Linked DNA regions of Homo sapiens: regions 1, 2, 3, 4 and 5 are each linked to region 6. Evidence: promoter capture Hi-C in 16 types of primary human blood cells and fetal thymus (Javierre and others, 2016). All regions are on one chromosome and are shown on one strand. Each heading gives the region's core, a stretch centred on a gene start or on the middle of the fragment in contact. The rest is flanking DNA. Distances are from core to core; before and after follow the strand shown.

Region 1 (2,807 bases), core at 182-2,681, 290 kb after region 6:
ACAAATGCAAATGTAGTTAGCCTCTACTTACTCCTGGAAGCAATGAAAGCAACAGCGGTTCAGCAAGATTGGAACATGTCTGGAGACTCTGGAGACAAAGGCAGGGAAGTTTAGGTGTCCATTTAGGGCATCTTTGAAATGTTTTCTTTAGGTCTGTTTATGGGTCTCTTTGTTTATTAAAATAATGCTGCACCAGCACTGACTGTGAGAGATTCTCTTACCTTGGATTATATTCTAACTCGATGCCCAGCAATCAGGGAAGAAATGGTTAAGGAAATTTAGACAGTCATTTGCTGCTGTGTTATACAGTCATTAAACACTGTGCAAATTATGGAGAACCACAGAAAAATCATTAAATGGAAAATCAGAAAACTCTGGTTACAATTACCCAAGATTAGGTATGCTTATGAAATGCCCAAACAGAACAAGCAGCAATGAACACAACTGATGAGTCGGCAGGATTATAAGCTTCCTTTCCTTGGGCTCTTTGATGTTTGCATAAGAACCCATATATCACAGGGCACGCCCTTAGGGCTTATGGTTCAATCCCACTTCTAAGAAAATGTTCTGATTCAGTGTCAGCAAGGCCCTTCCCCAGCTGACTGCCGGACTCTGTGGGACAGGACACCCCAACTTCTCAACAAGCCTTCTATGGGGACACCGGACTCTAAGCTCTTGCCCTGCTCTATCACTGCTCCATCTTGGCCAGCTCTTTGTTCCTCAGTAAAATCAGGCTTTGCCTATCTCGACCACGGCCAGGCGGTCAGGGGCCCTCACTCCATGTCTGACTCACAGCTCTATTTCCAATGCAGACCTTCCTTCTGGCTGGAAATCCACCTGCCCAGCAGCCAGCGAGAGACCTGGAGGAACTGGGGACCATGACAAGGCACACCCATATGCCAAGGTTCTTTGGTGTACATCAGCTCATTTAAGAGGACAGAGCTATCTCAGGAAAGACAAAAACAGACCTCAGAACCCCTCTCCACAGTGGGGAAGGACCTGTTTTTAATACAGTCTGAAAGATAAAAGGATTCTGTCTCCACCGCTGTCCACTGAGGCTTCGACTCAAATACATACTGCTCAACCAGACCCTAAAACATCCAGAATAGAGAACAGTAATTCTCGTCAACAGACCAGAATATTTCTTCATCACACCAAGTTCTCATTAAAAAGCAACTTTCTGGATGAGCAAGTGGCTCATGCCTGTAATCCCAGCACTTTGGGAGGCCGAGGCAGGCGGATCACAAGGTCAGGGGTTTGAGACCTGCCTGGCCAATATGGTGAAACCCCATCTCTACTAAAAATACAAAAATTAGTTGGGCATAGTGGCGGGCGCCTGTAGTCCCAGCTACTTGGGAGGCTGAGGTAGAAGAATCACTTGAACCCAGGAGGCAGAGGTTGCAGTGAGTCGAGATCGCGCCACTGCACTCTAGCCTGGGGAACAGACCGAGTCTCCGTCTCAGAAAAAAAAGCAACTTTCTGATCTATACCTCAGTCCCTCAGTCCAACTGGACTGACCTAGCAGAAGAGTACATTTGGAGCTGACAGCTGACTACAAAATGGGTACACAGGCACCATGAACTATATACACTGGCAGGCTTTGTAAGCACAGGCCAGACTGACATTTTTAATTATAAATTAGTTGAGTCAATGAGTCAAGGTTATAAGATTACAAAACAGACCCTGGATCACTGGATCCATGAGGACACTGCAGATCCAACAGACCAGCCAGACCAGCAGCCAGAAACAGCCCATTTCCCTTCATCCAAGCGGGGGCTGGCCACCTGGTCGCCCACCATGCTCACTGCTCTCTCAGATGCCCAGAAACCTGGGGGACACAACCCTAGAGAACACACTACTCATTCTAAAGTCGTGATCCTCAGAAAACTAAATTCATTAAAAATACATTTAAAAATAAAGAAACACAACCTAAACACAGTCCAACTTACTAAGAAATCCCACTTGTGACCAGGAGAAACTGAGGGAAAACTGGAGCAGTGACACCAGTAAGGTGAGGAACGGGGAAAGGACAAGATGCCTAAAACCCCACAAGACCCTCCGGACTGCTGGATGTGCTTCTACAGGATAAACCAGCTGCACTCCATCTCCCAACATCCCCCTCTCCCTCCCCATTCAATTATCCTACAAACAGAATCCTTGTATATTCTAAATACCAGAAACACATGAAAAGGCACAAGCAAATTTTTATTTAGCAATTAAAAGAATTGAAAATAAAGAAGAACGCTACAACAGGACACTAGCACAAAACACTCAATTTACCTGTAAGCCATGTTCCCCAGCGTCGTATTTATTGTCCCCATCGAGCTGTTCTACTGCCACATAATCCACAAATGATTCAAATACTTTAAAGAGAGAGAGAGAAAAGTCAAGTGCTAAAGCTTCATTTATAATGTAGCCAACACAGGTGTAAGTTATTTAAATCAGCATATTTAGGATTAGCAGAGAAGGTAAACAACACTAACAGTAACTCTCCCCCTGTAGCCAAGACTGTAGGTAAATGTGCTGTTAGCACCTTTGCTCATTGGCCAAAGGTCATTGGTATCTTTCTTAAGGACATTAAAATGACAATATGGAGGTAACAGTTAAGGTTTTACTGTTATTCGAACAAAGCACATACTGTAAAGCTATGATTATGAAGACAGCTTGGAATTGGGCAGTGTGGACAACCCCTTGGTCTCAAAAGCAGAGATGCACAAATGTGAATGGCTGGCTGATGTGGCAGAATGACAAGGAAAACCTCGATTTCCTCAGAGGTCAACACGGGGTGGGGTGGAAGTTGGTCCTGA
Region 2 (2,803 bases), core at 130-2,629, 370 kb after region 6:
CCCAGCTACTTGGGGTGCTGAGGTGAGAGGATCACTTGAGCCCGGGAGGTCGGGACTGCAGTGAGCCATGATTGTGCCACTGCGCTCCAGCCTGGGGGACAGAGCAAGACCCTGTCTCAAAAACAAACAAAACCCAAACATAGACAGTCATTTCCGTTTTCCTGCTGAGATTCTTTACAAAGAGAGAATTATTTTTATATTTAGTAAGAATAAGAATCCAAGAATCCCTGGGGAGTTTTTAAAATGCAGATTCCTCGGTCCTCCTACCTCTGCGGTATTCACCAGCTCCCCTCCCAGCCTCAGAAGGGTGGTTCTTATGGGCTGGGCACAGTGGCTTCCGCCTGTAATCCCAGCATTGGGAGGCCAGGGGAGGCCAAGGCAGGCAGATCGCCTGAGCTCACAAAAAAACTACAAAAATTAACGGAGTGTGGTGGCACATGCTTGTAGTCCTGGCTAACTGGGGAGCTGAGGAACGAGGATCACTTGGAGCCCAGGAGGTCGAGGCTGCTGTGAGCCAAGATCACGACGCTGCACTCCAGCCTGGACGACAAAGTGAGACCCACTCTCAAAAAAAATAAAGATGAAAAATAAAGGTGATTCTTGGACTACCCTTTGAGAAACCCTAGGAATGCAATATGGTATTTTATTACTATTATTATTATTTTTAGACGCAGTCTCGCTCTGTTGCCCAGGCAGGAGTGCAGTGGTGTGATCTCGGCTCACTGCAACCTTCTCCTCTGGGGTTCAAGCGATTCTCCTGCCTCAGCCTCCCAAGTAGCTGGGACTACAGGCACACACCACCATGCTTGGCTAATTTTTGTATTTTTAGTAGAGACAGGGTTTCACTATGTTGGCCAGGCTGGTCTCAAATTCCTGACCTCAAGTGATCAACCTGCCTCAGCCTCCCAAACTGCTGGGATTACAGGCGTAAGCCACCACGCCCAGCCTGTATGGTATTTTATTAATTAATTAATTAATTTTTTGAGACGGAGTCTCACTCTGTCACCCAGGCTGGAGTGCAGTGGCATGATCTCAGCTCACTGCAAGCTCCACCTCCCGGGTTCATGCCATTCTCCTGCCTCAGCCTCTCAAGTAGCTGGGACTACAGGTGCCTGCCACCATGCCCGGCCAATTTTTTTGTGTGTTTTTAGTAGAGACGGGGTTTCACCTGTTAGCCAGGATAGTCTTGATCTCCTGACCTCGTGATCCGCCTGCCTCGGCCTCCCAAAGTGCTGGGATTACAGGCATTAGCCACCGCGCCCGGCCCCATAATTTATTTTTTCTAGAGACAGGGTCTCCCTACATTGCCCAGACTGGACTTGAACTCCTGGGTTCCAGCCATGTCCAGCTTTTAGAAAGGTATTTTAATTTTACATGGGGATGGCTAAACTGGGCGTGAATATCTTTTCTCTCTTCACACACCTTTGTAACAGCTGATAGAATCACCTGGGTCTGGAAAATGTCTGAGCTCTTAATTTCTAATCACTCCTATTGAGATCATAGTAAAAGCAAGAGCAAATATTTATTTAGGACCTACTAGGCAAATTTGCATGACATTTGCATCGCAGTTGCATTTTTACCCTCACAACACTCCCAGGAGACAGTATTTTTATAATAATCATCTCCATTTCTCAGAGGAAACAGCCAATCCCAGCTGGTAAGTGGGAGAGCTGGGATTTGAACTCAAGGCTGACTGTTTAACCTCCAGGCTGTGCTGCCTTCATCGACTAGACACCATAAGCATATGGCAGGTTCCCATGAGCACAAAGAACAGGAAGTCCAACCAGGCATGGTGGCGCATGCCTATAGTTCCAACTACAGGAGGCTTAGGTGGGAGGATCTCTGAGCCCAGGAGGTGGAGTTTGCAGTGAGTCATGATGGCACCACTGCACTCCAGGCTGAGTGACAGAGCAAGACTCTGTCTGAAAAAAAAAAAAAAAAAAAAAAAAAAAAAAAGGAAAAAGAGAAAAACAGCCAGGCGTGGTGGGTCACGCCTGTAATCCCAGCACTTTGGGAGGCTGAGGTGGGTGGATCACGAAGTCAAAAGATGGAGACCATCCTGGCCAACATGATGAAACCACATTTCTACTAAAAATACAAAAATTAACCAGGCATGGTGGCGCGCACCTGTAGTCCCAGCTACTTGGGAGGCTGAGGCAGGAGAATTGCTTGAACCTGGGAGGTGGAGGTTGCGGTGAGCCGAGATTGCACCAGTGCACTCCAGCCTGGGCAACAAGAGCGAAACTCCATCCCAAAAAAACAAAACAACAACAACAATAAAAAAAAAAAATCACCCCCCCCAAAACAATAGGCTTATTTTAAGCAGGGCACCACTTATGCTATAAACATTGCTTCTTATTTTATTGCTATAAACATTGATGATTATTCCCCTATCCCTATGCAAATCAACACAGTGGGAAGATAAAGCAGATAGCAGGTTTGGTACCTGGTGGTCCCTGTCTCCTCTGCAGAGGTCAGGGATGCCTCTGAGAGACCGTGCTTATTTTTGTCTCTTGCAGTTTGTGACAACCACATGCACTCTGCGTCCCAGGGTAGCCCCTGGCTCGCAGCGGCCAGCAGAGCCGGATTCTATGTAAGATGCAAAATGAGACCTGATGTGCGGCTGCTCCAGTTACTCATTTCCTCAGAGGGCTGCTGTGATGGGCAGAATCATGGCTCCCCAAACATGTCCACACCCTAATCCCCAGAACCTGTGCATATGTTACCTCACGTCAAGCAGAAATTAAGATTGCTAATCAGCTATTTTTGATTTTTATTTTCTTTTTAAAGACAAGGTCTTGTT
Region 3 (2,711 bases), core at 183-2,682, 390 kb after region 6:
TTTTTTTTTTTTTTTTAAGAGACTGGGGTCTCACTATATTGCCCAGGCTGGTCTCAAACTCCTGGCCTCAAGCAGTCCTCCCAAGTCAGCCTTCCAAAGCACTGGGATCACAGGCATGAGCCACTATGACCAACCTGGATACTAAAAAAACAAAAAAACCTTCTCAGGTGTTTATAATGTGCAGCCAGGACTGAGAACTAGTGATTTTATGCAGAGAACAAAACAAAACCCAAAATCCTACTGAGCAGAGAAAAACTGTAAGCCTGCAGGCATCCTATAAGCCTGGGTTTGATTCTTGACCTCATCAGTTGAATCCTGACTACACCTGAGCCTCACAGAGTCCAGCCTGTGATCCTGGCCAAGTTTCTGAACCTCTCTGAGCTTTATTTACCTATAACACAGGGAGGGTGGCAGCTGCATCTCAAGATTTGTGTTGCTGTCAGTGCTCCAGGCACACTGGGCTTCTTGTCTCCAGACACTGGCATCTTTCTGGTCTCCTTGCTTCTACCCAGGCTGCCCTCTCCACCCAGCTCACTCCAAACATCTTTAATACCCAGCTCAAGTATCATTTGCTCTGAAAGCCTGTGTGTGCATGCAATTGTAATTCCTTCTGCCTGAGATTTTCTTCCTTCAGCTTGTGGCAGTGAATTCTAACTTTCCCCTGATAGCCATTCTCCTCTTCTTTCTTCAGTACTAGGTCCCTGTGTGTTACCTGAGCACTCAGAGGAGACCGTGTTTGCCACTTGATTAAACTCTGGCTCATAGAATGTGAGCAAAGTGACACGTCCAACTTCTAGGTCGTGGCCTTAAAAGAAACAAGCATGCTCTCCATTTTTACTTCCTGCTGGCTGGATTGTTAGTGTGATGGTGGGTACTGAAGTAGCCCTTTTTTTTTTTTTTTTTGGAGACAAAGTCTCTGTCATCCAGAGTAGAGTGCAGTGGCGCAATCTTGCCTCACTGCAATCTCTGCCTCCCTGGTTCAAGCAATTCTCCTGCCTCAGCCTTCTGAGTAGCTGGGATTATAGGTGTGCACCACCACACCCGGCTAATTTTTGTATTTTTAGTAGAAACGGGGTTTCACCATGTTGGCCAGGCTGGTCTCAAACTCCTGACCTCAAGTGATCTGCCTGCCTCAGCCTCCCAAAGTGCTGGGATTACAGGTGAGAGCCACTGCGCCCAGCTGCAGTAGCCCTTTTAAAAAAATTTTTTTGAGACAGAGCCTTACTCCATCATCCAGGCTGGAGTGCAGTGGCACAATCTCAGCTCACTGCAACCTCCACCTCTTGGGTTCAAGCGATTTTCAGGCCTCAGCCTCCCTAGTATCTGGGATTACAGGTGCCCGCCACCACGCCAGGCTAATTTTTTTATATTTTTAGTAGAGATGGGGTTTCACCATGTTAGCCAGGCTGGTCTGAACTGCTGATCTCAAGTGATCTGCCCGCCTTGGCCTCCCAAAGTGCTGAGATTACAGGTGTGAGCCACCGCAGCCTGGAGTAGCCACTGTGGACTAGGATGTATCAGCCTGAATCTCTGACACTGCGGAACTGGCCTATCAGTCCTGGATGGAGGTGACTTAAGAGAAAAACAAACCTTTATCTCATTTTAGCCCCTATTAGTTTGACCTTTGTCACAGCAGCCAAACCAGTATCATAACTTGGCCGGGCGCGGTGGCTCATGCCTGTAATGCTAGTACTTTGGAAGGTACAGGCGGGAGAATCACCTGAGATCGAGGGTTTGAGACCAGCATGACCAACATGGAGAAACCCCATCTCTACTAAAAATACAAAATTAGCCGGGCGTGGTGGCACATGCCTGTAATCCCAGCTACTCGGGGGGCTGAAGCAGGAGAATCGCTTGAACCCGGGAGGCAGAGGTTGTGAGCCAAGATCACGCCATTGCACTCCAGCCTGGGCAACAAGAAACTCCGTCTCAAAAAAACAAACAACCAAAAACAAACAAACAAACAAACAAGAAAAAAACAGAGAGTCTCACTCTGTTGCCCAGGCTGGAGTGCAGTGATGGGATCTTGGCTAACTGCAGCCTCTGCCTTCTGGACTCAAGCGATCCTCCCACCTCAGCCTCCCAAGTAGCTGAGACTACAGGTGTGCACCACCACACCTGTATTTTTGTATTTTCTGTAGACTTGGGGTCTTGCTATATTGCCCAGGCTGGTCTCAAACTCCTGGGTTCAAGTGATTCACTTGCCTCAGCTTCCCAAAGTGCTAGGATTACAGATGTGAGCCACTGTGCCCAGCCCAGTTTCTGACCTTAATTATATTAGCAATGTCATATTCTATTTTTTTTCTTTAGAGACAGGGTTTCACTCTGTCACCCAGGCTAGAGTGCAGTGATGCAATAGTAGCTCACTGTAACCTCGAACTCCTGGCCTCAAATGATCCTCTTGCCTTGGCTTCCCAAAGCGCTGGGATTACAGGCGTGAACCATTGCATCCAACAACAATATCATAGTGTATTGGCTAGAAGTAAATCTCAGACCGGGCGCAGTGGCTCATGCCTGTAATCCCAGCACTTTGGGAGGCCAAGGTGGGTGGATCACCTGAGGTCGGGAATTCGAGACTAGCCTGACCAACATGGAGAAACCCCGTCACTACTAAAAATACAAAATTAGCCAGGCATGGTGGCGCATGCTTGTAATCCCAGCTACTCAGGAGGTTGAGGCAGGAGAATCACTTGAACCCGGGAGGTGGTGGT
Region 4 (2,700 bases), core at 133-2,632, 270 kb after region 6:
GCTATGTTGGCAGAGCTGAGAGTCCCAACAGAGACCATCACACAATACCTACTCTGGCCTTTTACAGAAAGTTTACCAACTCTGACCCTAGCCTAAGCCCAAACCACAAGAGAGATGTCTTACTTACACACCTCACCTTAGTAATTCAAGGAACCTTCAGGTGCTATGGCTTTGAGACGGAGTCTCCCTCACGCTGTCACCCAGGCTGGAGTGCAGTGGCACGATCTCAGCTCACTGCAACCTCTGCCTCCTGGGTTCAAGTGATTCTCTGGCCTCAGCCTCCCGAGCAGCTGGGACTGCAGGTGTCTACCACCATGCCCGGCTAATTTTTGCGTTTTCAGTAGAGACAAGGTTTCACCATGCTGGCCAAGCTGGTCTTGAACTCCTGACCTCAAGTGATCCACCGATCTCAAGCCTCCCAAAGTGCTGGGATTACAGGTGTGAGCCACCGCATCCGGCCCAGGTGCTATAGGTTTTATCGCATTTGCTTTAACTGTGAAGGTGGTTTCAGAGTTAAGACTTTAAACTACTCACAATTTCCATCCCTGGCACCATAAACATTTGCCTCACAGCAAATGAGTGATGTTATGTATGACGCCAAATGTCCTTGCCGTCTGGTGAAAGAGAAGCTGGGTCAGGGCCTCCATCAGGAAGCGATGGTGTCTAGACGTGGCTTCTCGCCCTGTCAAGGCACCCACGTTGCAGGGGACTCTGCCAGGTCCCATAGTGTCTCCCTTGGGCTTTGCTCACAGCACGAGCCACCGCGCCTGGCTGCTCTTCTCATTTTGAAACAAGACTGCTTCAGCTCGCTGCTCTTGTGTGTGAGGGCGTGGGAAGGGCCACTGTGACCGCAGGCCCTTGCTGTCACGCAGTGGTTTTCAGGGCTCCCCGCTGTGAAGACTCCGAATGCTGTCAACAGATGGCATCCACACCCCACAGAGGGAGAGGACACAATAGTCCCAGGGGTTACAGTGAGGCCGGAGAAGGGGAGTTCATTTTTCTTTCTTTAAAATTTCAGCTTGTCTCCCCAGAACCAGTTTAACAAACTCAAACTCCTGACACTGTAACTGCGAGTGAGTGGAAAAGGGAACGCGGCAGATGACGGAAACATTACAACACGTTCTTTGGAAAAAGAGTCATTTAATACCTTAAGGGAGAGTAGGAACTTTCAGTTACCTAAGACTACAGCCAACCCCCAGCCCAGAACAAAAACAAGACACCTTAATGTTTGTTCAAAGACAAACCCACAGCGAACGGCTCTCGCACCCCTGCTCTAACTCCTCTTTCTGGGGGAGGAAGGAGGGAAGGGCCAGGTCCGCGGGGACCCTCACTCCCTGCTTTCTATCACACGGGTCACAAGGCAGCTCTCAGAGCAGAAGGCACACACACTGCAGTGGAAGTTGAGAAAGGAAGTCACTCCAAGGTACACACTGGCCCAAAGACCAGGAAACCGTGCCACGGAGCTGGAAGGCAAGGCCGATGGGACGGTGCAAGGACCACGCCCACGATAGCGCCTGCCGCCCCGAAGGGCCTCGTGACACATCAGGTCACATCTCCAGTCACCTTATTTGTACACAGTTCTCTCCTGGAAAACCTTTCATTTCTTAAGAGTAAATGTGACTAGTTAGAGGCTAAAAAAAAAAAAAAAAAAAAAAAGAAACAAGAGACCCTGCCCCCGCAAAACGGAATTAGAAGGAAAAGTACATCTCAGTGAAACCTTGTTACAAATGCCAAGGTTTCCCAGGCCTGTTTCCAGGGAGAGTAGAAATCTTCCTCCACTTCCACGTAACTCACTGAATTATAATTTTTATAGAAAATTTTATTCAACATACAACATTTTCCAGCAAAAAGGCAATATACAGGAAGAGTTGGTGTACACTGCTCCCACAGAAACAACCCAAAAAATACCGGAAAAGGATGAAAAATAAGAGTGATTTGCTGATTCTATTTTACTGCACTCAAAACTAGACACGCAGCTGGCATTAGCTCCAAAATAAAAGGAAACGGGGCTGGGACCGAAATAAAACTACACACAATGAATATCAACATCAGTGAAATTCACTTGCAGACTCACCCAACAAAAAGGAACCTCCTCCCAGTGGCAAATTGTACATGTTCATTCATTAAATATACAATTCATTTTTCCTTTTTTTTTCATTTTTAACTTTTTTACAAAGTCGACAGCTTACTAACCACTAGTGAGCATGCCCTCTTGCTAAAAGGCTTTCTTGTCGTCTGTTCCACTTTAACGAAATTCTATTTATAATCCTTTCACCTGCTCGTATGAACTGTTGAGATCGTAAGTCTGCCAAGGCAGCAGAGTAAACCTTAATTGAATTTAACAATGTTCTTGATTTAATAAAAAGACCCCCACAATGTCTGTCCGGACTGTATTCAGTGCATCCACTTTGCAAAGGGGCTGCAGACAGTAGTGGCTGACGAGGTGAGACAAGTTTATTAAAAAGCCCCCAGGCAGCTGGAGGAGGAGAACCCGAGGAAGGGCCGACAATGCACACAATGAAGGGAAGAGCGCTATTTATTAGGTTGTGAGTTTCTCTGTTTTGCCTTAACAGATGCACAAAAGGTCATTGAAAGTATAACTGAAGGAAATAGGTCAGACGAGCCTAAACACAAGACTTGCTAGCTGCAGGGCTGGTGCACGGGACCCCAGGAAGGCAGCCGAGCCACTCGTGCCCACTA
Region 5 (2,700 bases), core at 1-2,500, 500 kb after region 6:
TTGTTTTTTGAGATGGAGTCTCTGTCGCTGGAGTGCGGTGGTGCGATCCCAGCTCACCGCAATCTCTGCCTCCCGGGTTCAAGCGATTCTCCTGCCTATAACTACAGGTGTGCGCCACCACGCCCAGCTAATTTAATTTTGAATTTTTAGTAGAGACGGGATTTCACCATGTTGGCCAGGCCAGTCTTGAATTCCTGACCTTAAGTGATCTGCCCGCCTTGGCCTCCCCAAGTGCTGGGATTACAGGCATGAGACACTGCGCCTGGCCTATGTTTTAAGTTTCTCTATGACAAATTTCTGTAGATGAACTATCTGGGTCAAAAAAATTCATCTATAAAATACTGATGGGTCTTGCCAAAGTACCTTCTGCAAGGTACCAGTTAATACTTCCATCAGAAAGTAAGAGCGCCTGTTCCCTTACATCGTAGCCAGTGTTGGGTATTTATACTTCCTTTGGCAGAAGTGACCTTTCAGTTTTAATCTGTTTTTTACCTGCTCGTATGAAGGAAGACTTTTTGCTTGATATCACGTGGGTTTGAATGCTGACTCTACTACCAGGTCTGGGAACCTAGGTAAGTTTGCCTCTCTGGGCTGTTTTCTCATCTGTGAAATAAATAGAAAACATAGAAAAATAAATTAAAAAATGTGAATGTTAGTGACTTGTGTTCCTTGGAAGTTGGATACATTTACATCTCCATTTATAATTCTCCCATCAGCAGAGCCCTGGAGAACTCTGGAATGTGGCTGATAGCTTATCTTAACATGCCATTGAAAAATTAGCCCTTTTTGGCTAGGCGTGGTGGCTCACGCCTGTAATCCCAGCACTGGGAGGCCAAGGCGGGCAGATCACGAGGTCACAAGAGATTGAGACCATCCTGGCCAACATGGTGAAACCCCATCTCTACTAAAAATACAAAAATTAGCTGGGCGTGGTGGTACGCACCTGTAGTCCCAGCTACTTGGGAGGCTGAGACAGGAGAATCACTTGAATCCGGGAGGTGGAGAGGTTGCGGTGAGCAAAGATTGCACCACTGCACTCCAGCCTGGCGACAGAGCAAGACTCCGTCTAAAAAAAAGAAAAAGAAAAATTAGCCCTTTCTTTTTTCTTTGAGACAGGGTTTTACTCTCTTGCCTAGGCTGGAGTGCTTTGGTGCGATCATAGCTCACTGCAGCCTCGATAGGTAACACACTAAGTGGTGAGTTTTCAGGGAAGGGGCTTGTTCACATGTAAGAGAGATTTTAATTTTTCAAACTGAAGTTGAATGCCCTCCTAGGAGATGCCACAGGCCGGCAAGTACAGGCTGCCTCACTTCACTAGTACTTAACCCTCAAGCAGGGAAGCTACTCCCCTTTAGCCCAAGTAGAGGGAGTATGGGGTGCTGGTGTGGTTGCTGTGCACGGCCGCTGTTGGGGAGGGCCGTAGCATTTGCTTGTGTTTTAGGCCTGGTGGGCGTGTTCTCTGAGTTGCTGCTGGAAGTGTTGGGGCTCTCATCACTTAGTGGAATTGCCTTTGGGAGCTTCAGAAGGCCTGTGGTTTTCTGCAGCTTCAGCAACAAGGAGGGCTCAGCTGGCTGACAAGAGTTTTGTAGCTTGACCCTGGAAGAAGGGTTTGGGGGTGCCTGGGGCAGCCAGCTACCACTGGGCTGCTTTTGGCACCGGTGGGTCCAGTGGGCTCAACACTCAGAACTATTTGCTTGTGGACTCATAATCTGAATGCCCTCTATAAACCCACCAAGGTATGTGCCACTATAACTTAGAGCTTTAAGGAAGGATTCTAAGACCATTCATACCTCTTCCTCAGGAGTGGCGGTGCCAGGGCTGAAGTTCCCTGGGGAAAAGGGGATCACCTGCTAAACTGTCCTTGAGTGTAGTGGGCAGGAGCTTAATCACTCCCAAACTCTTTTCCCCATGGTGAGTCTCAAGATCACCATGGCCATGTTGATTTCAAGGTGTATGTAGAAATTTGTAACTACCAAGAAGTTCTTATTTGCTGTTTGGGGTCTCTTAGGTTAATGTGAATGTTGTATAGAACTGTGTTTGCGTACACAATTGCATTGGGCACAGGAAGGCTCGCCTCTTGCCCATCCTCAGTGTTTCTCAGACATACTGGACTATGATCTGTGGTAAGAAATACCTCTCCCATCAAGATCTTTTACCCAGCCACACCTTTTGTGAATGAACACACAGAACTGATGAAACAGGTCTCAGCAGTTCTTAGCTTTTTATGTCAAATGCACTTTATAGCTTCTTGCTGTTTCACTGAACAGGATGTTGTATGTGACCAACTGTGTTGATTTCACAGCCAGCTTGAAAACCTGGGCTCTCTGGACCTCAGCATGCAGCACAGGGTAGGTATAGACATTTCTTGAATGAGTTCATAAAAGGTGGCTTGAAGTTTTCTAGGTTTTCACAAGGAACTCCCTATTTTTCCTCTTCCTGGGCCTTAGGTCTGTCAAGAACTAGGGTGGTGGTGAAGAGAAGGACTTTGGGGTCAGTAGGGTGTAGGTGACAGTCCCACTGGCGGCCTGCCTCCCGGGCCCCTCCCTCAAGGTTATGGTGTGGAGGATGCCTAGCACCATGCCTGGTGCGAAGTGAGGACTCAGATGTTAGCCTTTAAATGTGCTTGTCGTGGCATGGCTGGATAAGATTCCCTTCTCAGAGTCCGAGGGCTCGCTTCTGGGTTCTGCACTGGCCTCCAGC
Region 6 (2,700 bases), core at 183-2,682:
ATAATCTGTTTCTTAAAAAAAAAAAAAAAAAAAATTCTTATTTGTGTCGCTTAGTCACCCTATCAACTCTCCACGTTTTATCATCAGTAACCATGAAATTGATGTTGATTTAATTCTATTTTGAAAAGAGAAAAAAAAGTAATTTAGACAAAGGTTGCCAGCTGAGGCCATGTGTGTGCGTGTGTGTATATGTGAACACACAGGGATATAGATTTTACATATGTGGACTTTACATATGTTCCTGTGTGTATATTTGTATGTTCACTGACATGTCTGAGAGTGAGCACCACTGTGTGTGTCTGGGCATGTCTGTGAACACGTCAGTGTGGTGTATATCCCTGGCAGCTCCCCATCTCACGCACAGTAAAATCCAAAGTTCTTAGAATGTCACAAAAGTTCTAACCCTGGCTACCTATGTATCCTCGTTTCCTGCGGCCCATCCCCTGGCTTACTCCATTGTGGCCAGGCTGACTTCCATGATGTCACTGAATATATAGATTGAGAAAAGGGCCAATATTATTGACTGTACTTTTTCTAAAAATGCAGTGACTCAGGCAAGAGACGTGAGAATCTGTGGTCTATCCTGCTCATCCTCTTCAGGGGATTCTTCTGAGGGCTGTGCTCAGTCACGGACTCAGAGGCTTTCTGAAATTCTGCAGGCAAGAAAAAACGAGCAAACATGGAGTCTTATGTTTGCCACTCTGTCTCACCCCCTTGGTGTTGGAAACTTGATGAGCATACGAATTAACGAAATCACTACCACCTAATGAAATCACTACCACCTATTAATAATAACAAGTACTGGCTGGGCGTGGTGGCTCATGCCTGTAATTTATGAGCTTTAGGAGGCCGAAGCAGGAGGACTGCTTGAAGCCAGGAGTTTGAGACCAGCCTGGGCAACACAACAAGATACAGTCTGTACAAAAAAAAAAAAAAATGGTGCCACGCAACTGTAGTCCCAGCTACTAGAGAGGCTGAAACAGGATTCCTTAAGCCCAGGAGTTCAAGGCTGCAGTGAGCTAAAATTGCGCCGCTGCACTCCAGCCTGGGTGACAGAGCAAGACCATCTCAAATAAACAAACAAACAAACAAACGAGTACTAAGAGCATGGATGACGGTAACACCCGTGATAATAAATACAGTAGCATGCTGGTTAAATAGCACCGGCTCTGATCCCACACCCCGGGTTCGAATCCAGGCTTTACCACTTAGTAGCTGGGAGAGTTATTTAACTCCTATTTAAGTCTTTTAGAGGAATGAGTTTAGCCACCTAGGCGGGTCCCCCCAGCAAACACGCCTCGCCCGCGACCAGAGCGAAGGCTACAGGTGCCCGCCGGCAACCCTCGGACGCATGCGCGGCCCGGGCAGGTAGGTGGAGCCACGGTGCGGGGCAGTCGGATGGTCGCACGCGGGGGCGGGGCCGCGCCTGCGCAGACCGCCTGTTATGGCGGCCGCCTAAGTCCCACAGAGACGGGAGTCGGGTGGGATCCCAGGCTGGGCCCCGCGGCGGGTAAGTGCCTGGGAGAGGCGGCGGGATAGGGTAGGGTGCAGGGAACCTCCTGGCGCCGAGCCTGACTTTGAAATCCGAGCTCCCACAGATCGGAGGCCCAGATCCCTAAGGCCCGACCCCACTCTTAGCGTCAGTTTCCCCTTCTCAACACGGGTGTTGGGGAAAGAAGTCCACGTCCTCACCTGGGTTTCCATCCTGGGTCCAGGCACCTCTCCTTCGGTTCTAGATTAGGAAGGGAGGGCAGTGCCCGACCTGTGACTGTTTTTTGAGAGGGCAATAGTTAACCCACAAGGGTGGCGTCAGGAAGGCGACAAGACAAAGAGAACGAGTAGCCCCACGGGGGACGTCCCCGGAGCCCCTCACTACCACTCTACGCACCGTGGCCAGGCCACGTCTTTCCTGCCCCCAGCCTGGGCCTTCACACCCTGCCCTCCCCAGCTCCTGGCCTAAATCGTCATGGGATCGCGCCAAATTATTGATTGTTGAGTGAGTTGCAGTTATCAGAAAGAAAGATGAGGAGGGAAGTTATTTCAACACCGTGATCCCAGCACACTGCTTATTTGGGACAACTGACTGGGGACCTATAGGAGAAGAAAGCTGGTAGCGTCTCAGTCTAGCCCCCACAGCCTTAGAAGAGCCAAGAACACGTTAGCTCCTGCTGCAGGGATGAGCCTGCAGCCCTATGGAGAGGTGGTGGGGCAGGTCCCCATCTGCAACCTGGGTCTCCTTTCTCAGCTCTGCCCAGTAAAGAGAGGAGCCCGAAGCCCATACAGACCCTGCATTTCCGGAAAGAGACTTTTCCTGACTAGAGAAACTGTTACCTTTTTTCTTTCTTCCCAGCATTCACTTTAATCATTATTATATTACTATAATGATAGTATTTACTATTGTTGCTTATTGAACGTTTACTATATGTCGTAAGCCCGAAAAGTGGTAATTGTCTCATATACTCCTCTGAGTATATGAGGGCCTGAGATAGGTTCAAGAGGGCCTCCTTATTCCCAGATAGCTGATTCTAGGGAAAGCCACTTAAAGGGAATCTCCTTCATCTGGAACTTACATTGCAGCGTACATTTCTTGGGAAGCCTGGTTGGGTTGAATTTAAAAATGGAAAATTCAACTAGAGATTAAGAATTTGAGTTTTTTTGTGTGTGTCTATACTTAAAATTTGGTGTGTAATATTATGCTCA

Evidence for each region. Contacts are between HindIII fragments. The CHiCAGO score rates a contact against its expected background, and 5 or more counts as called.
Region 1: a fragment that was not itself captured here is called in contact with the fragment with the promoter of METTL22 in region 6 in 9 of 17 cell types (neutrophils, total CD8 T cells, naive CD4 T cells and 6 more); the score reaches 10.5 in neutrophils.
Region 2: a fragment that was not itself captured here is called in contact with the fragment with the promoter of METTL22 in region 6 in 1 of 17 cell types (non-activated CD4 T cells); the score reaches 5.2 in non-activated CD4 T cells.
Region 3: a fragment that was not itself captured here is called in contact with the fragment with the promoter of METTL22 in region 6 in 1 of 17 cell types (neutrophils); the score reaches 5.5 in neutrophils.
Region 4: a fragment that was not itself captured here is called in contact with the fragment with the promoter of METTL22 in region 6 in 5 of 17 cell types (neutrophils, monocytes, activated CD4 T cells and 2 more); the score reaches 9.2 in neutrophils.
Region 5: a fragment that was not itself captured here is called in contact with the fragment with the promoter of METTL22 in region 6 in 4 of 17 cell types (total CD4 T cells, fetal thymus, neutrophils and 1 more); the score reaches 7.8 in total CD4 T cells.

What each region holds. Positions count from the first base shown.
Region 1 is chr16:8,908,465-8,911,271 of GRCh38, forward strand. USP7 (ubiquitin specific peptidase 7) reads right to left here. Exons shown (of 31, transcript NM_003470.3): 11 at 2,281-2,363. Among named protein-coding and RNA genes, the nearest start is that of LITAFD, 28 kb to the left of the region's middle. The HindIII fragment of the contact is 1,931 bases long and covers 467-2,397 here.
Region 2 is chr16:8,990,330-8,993,132 of GRCh38, forward strand. No RefSeq gene overlaps it. Among named protein-coding and RNA genes, the nearest start is that of USP7, 28 kb to the left of the region's middle. RefSeq lists an enhancer at 1,663-1,957. The HindIII fragment of the contact is 9,740 bases long and covers 1-2,803 here.
Region 3 is chr16:9,014,043-9,016,753 of GRCh38, forward strand. No RefSeq gene overlaps it. Among named protein-coding and RNA genes, the nearest start is that of USP7, 51 kb to the left of the region's middle. RefSeq lists a silencer at 1,470-1,764. The HindIII fragment of the contact is 6,077 bases long and covers 1-2,711 here.
Region 4 is chr16:8,890,974-8,893,673 of GRCh38, forward strand. USP7 (ubiquitin specific peptidase 7) reads right to left here. Exons shown (of 31, transcript NM_003470.3): 31 at 1,124-2,700. Among named protein-coding and RNA genes, the nearest start is that of LITAFD, 10 kb to the left of the region's middle. RefSeq lists enhancers at 525-794, 855-1,004, 1,075-1,134, 1,185-1,414. The HindIII fragment of the contact is 2,868 bases long and covers 1-2,700 here.
Region 5 is chr16:9,120,986-9,123,685 of GRCh38, forward strand. It overlaps HAPSTR1 (HUWE1 associated protein modifying stress responses), which reads left to right. Exons shown (of 4, transcript NM_014117.3): 4 at 1-650. Among named protein-coding and RNA genes, the nearest start is that of HAPSTR1, 31 kb to the left of the region's middle. RefSeq lists an enhancer at 2,504-2,700. The HindIII fragment of the contact is 6,607 bases long and covers 1-2,700 here.
Region 6 is chr16:8,620,266-8,622,965 of GRCh38, forward strand. METTL22 (methyltransferase 22, Kin17 lysine) reads left to right here and starts at 1,433. Exons shown (of 11, transcript NM_024109.4): 1 at 1,433-1,510. The HindIII fragment of the contact is 6,720 bases long and covers 1-2,700 here.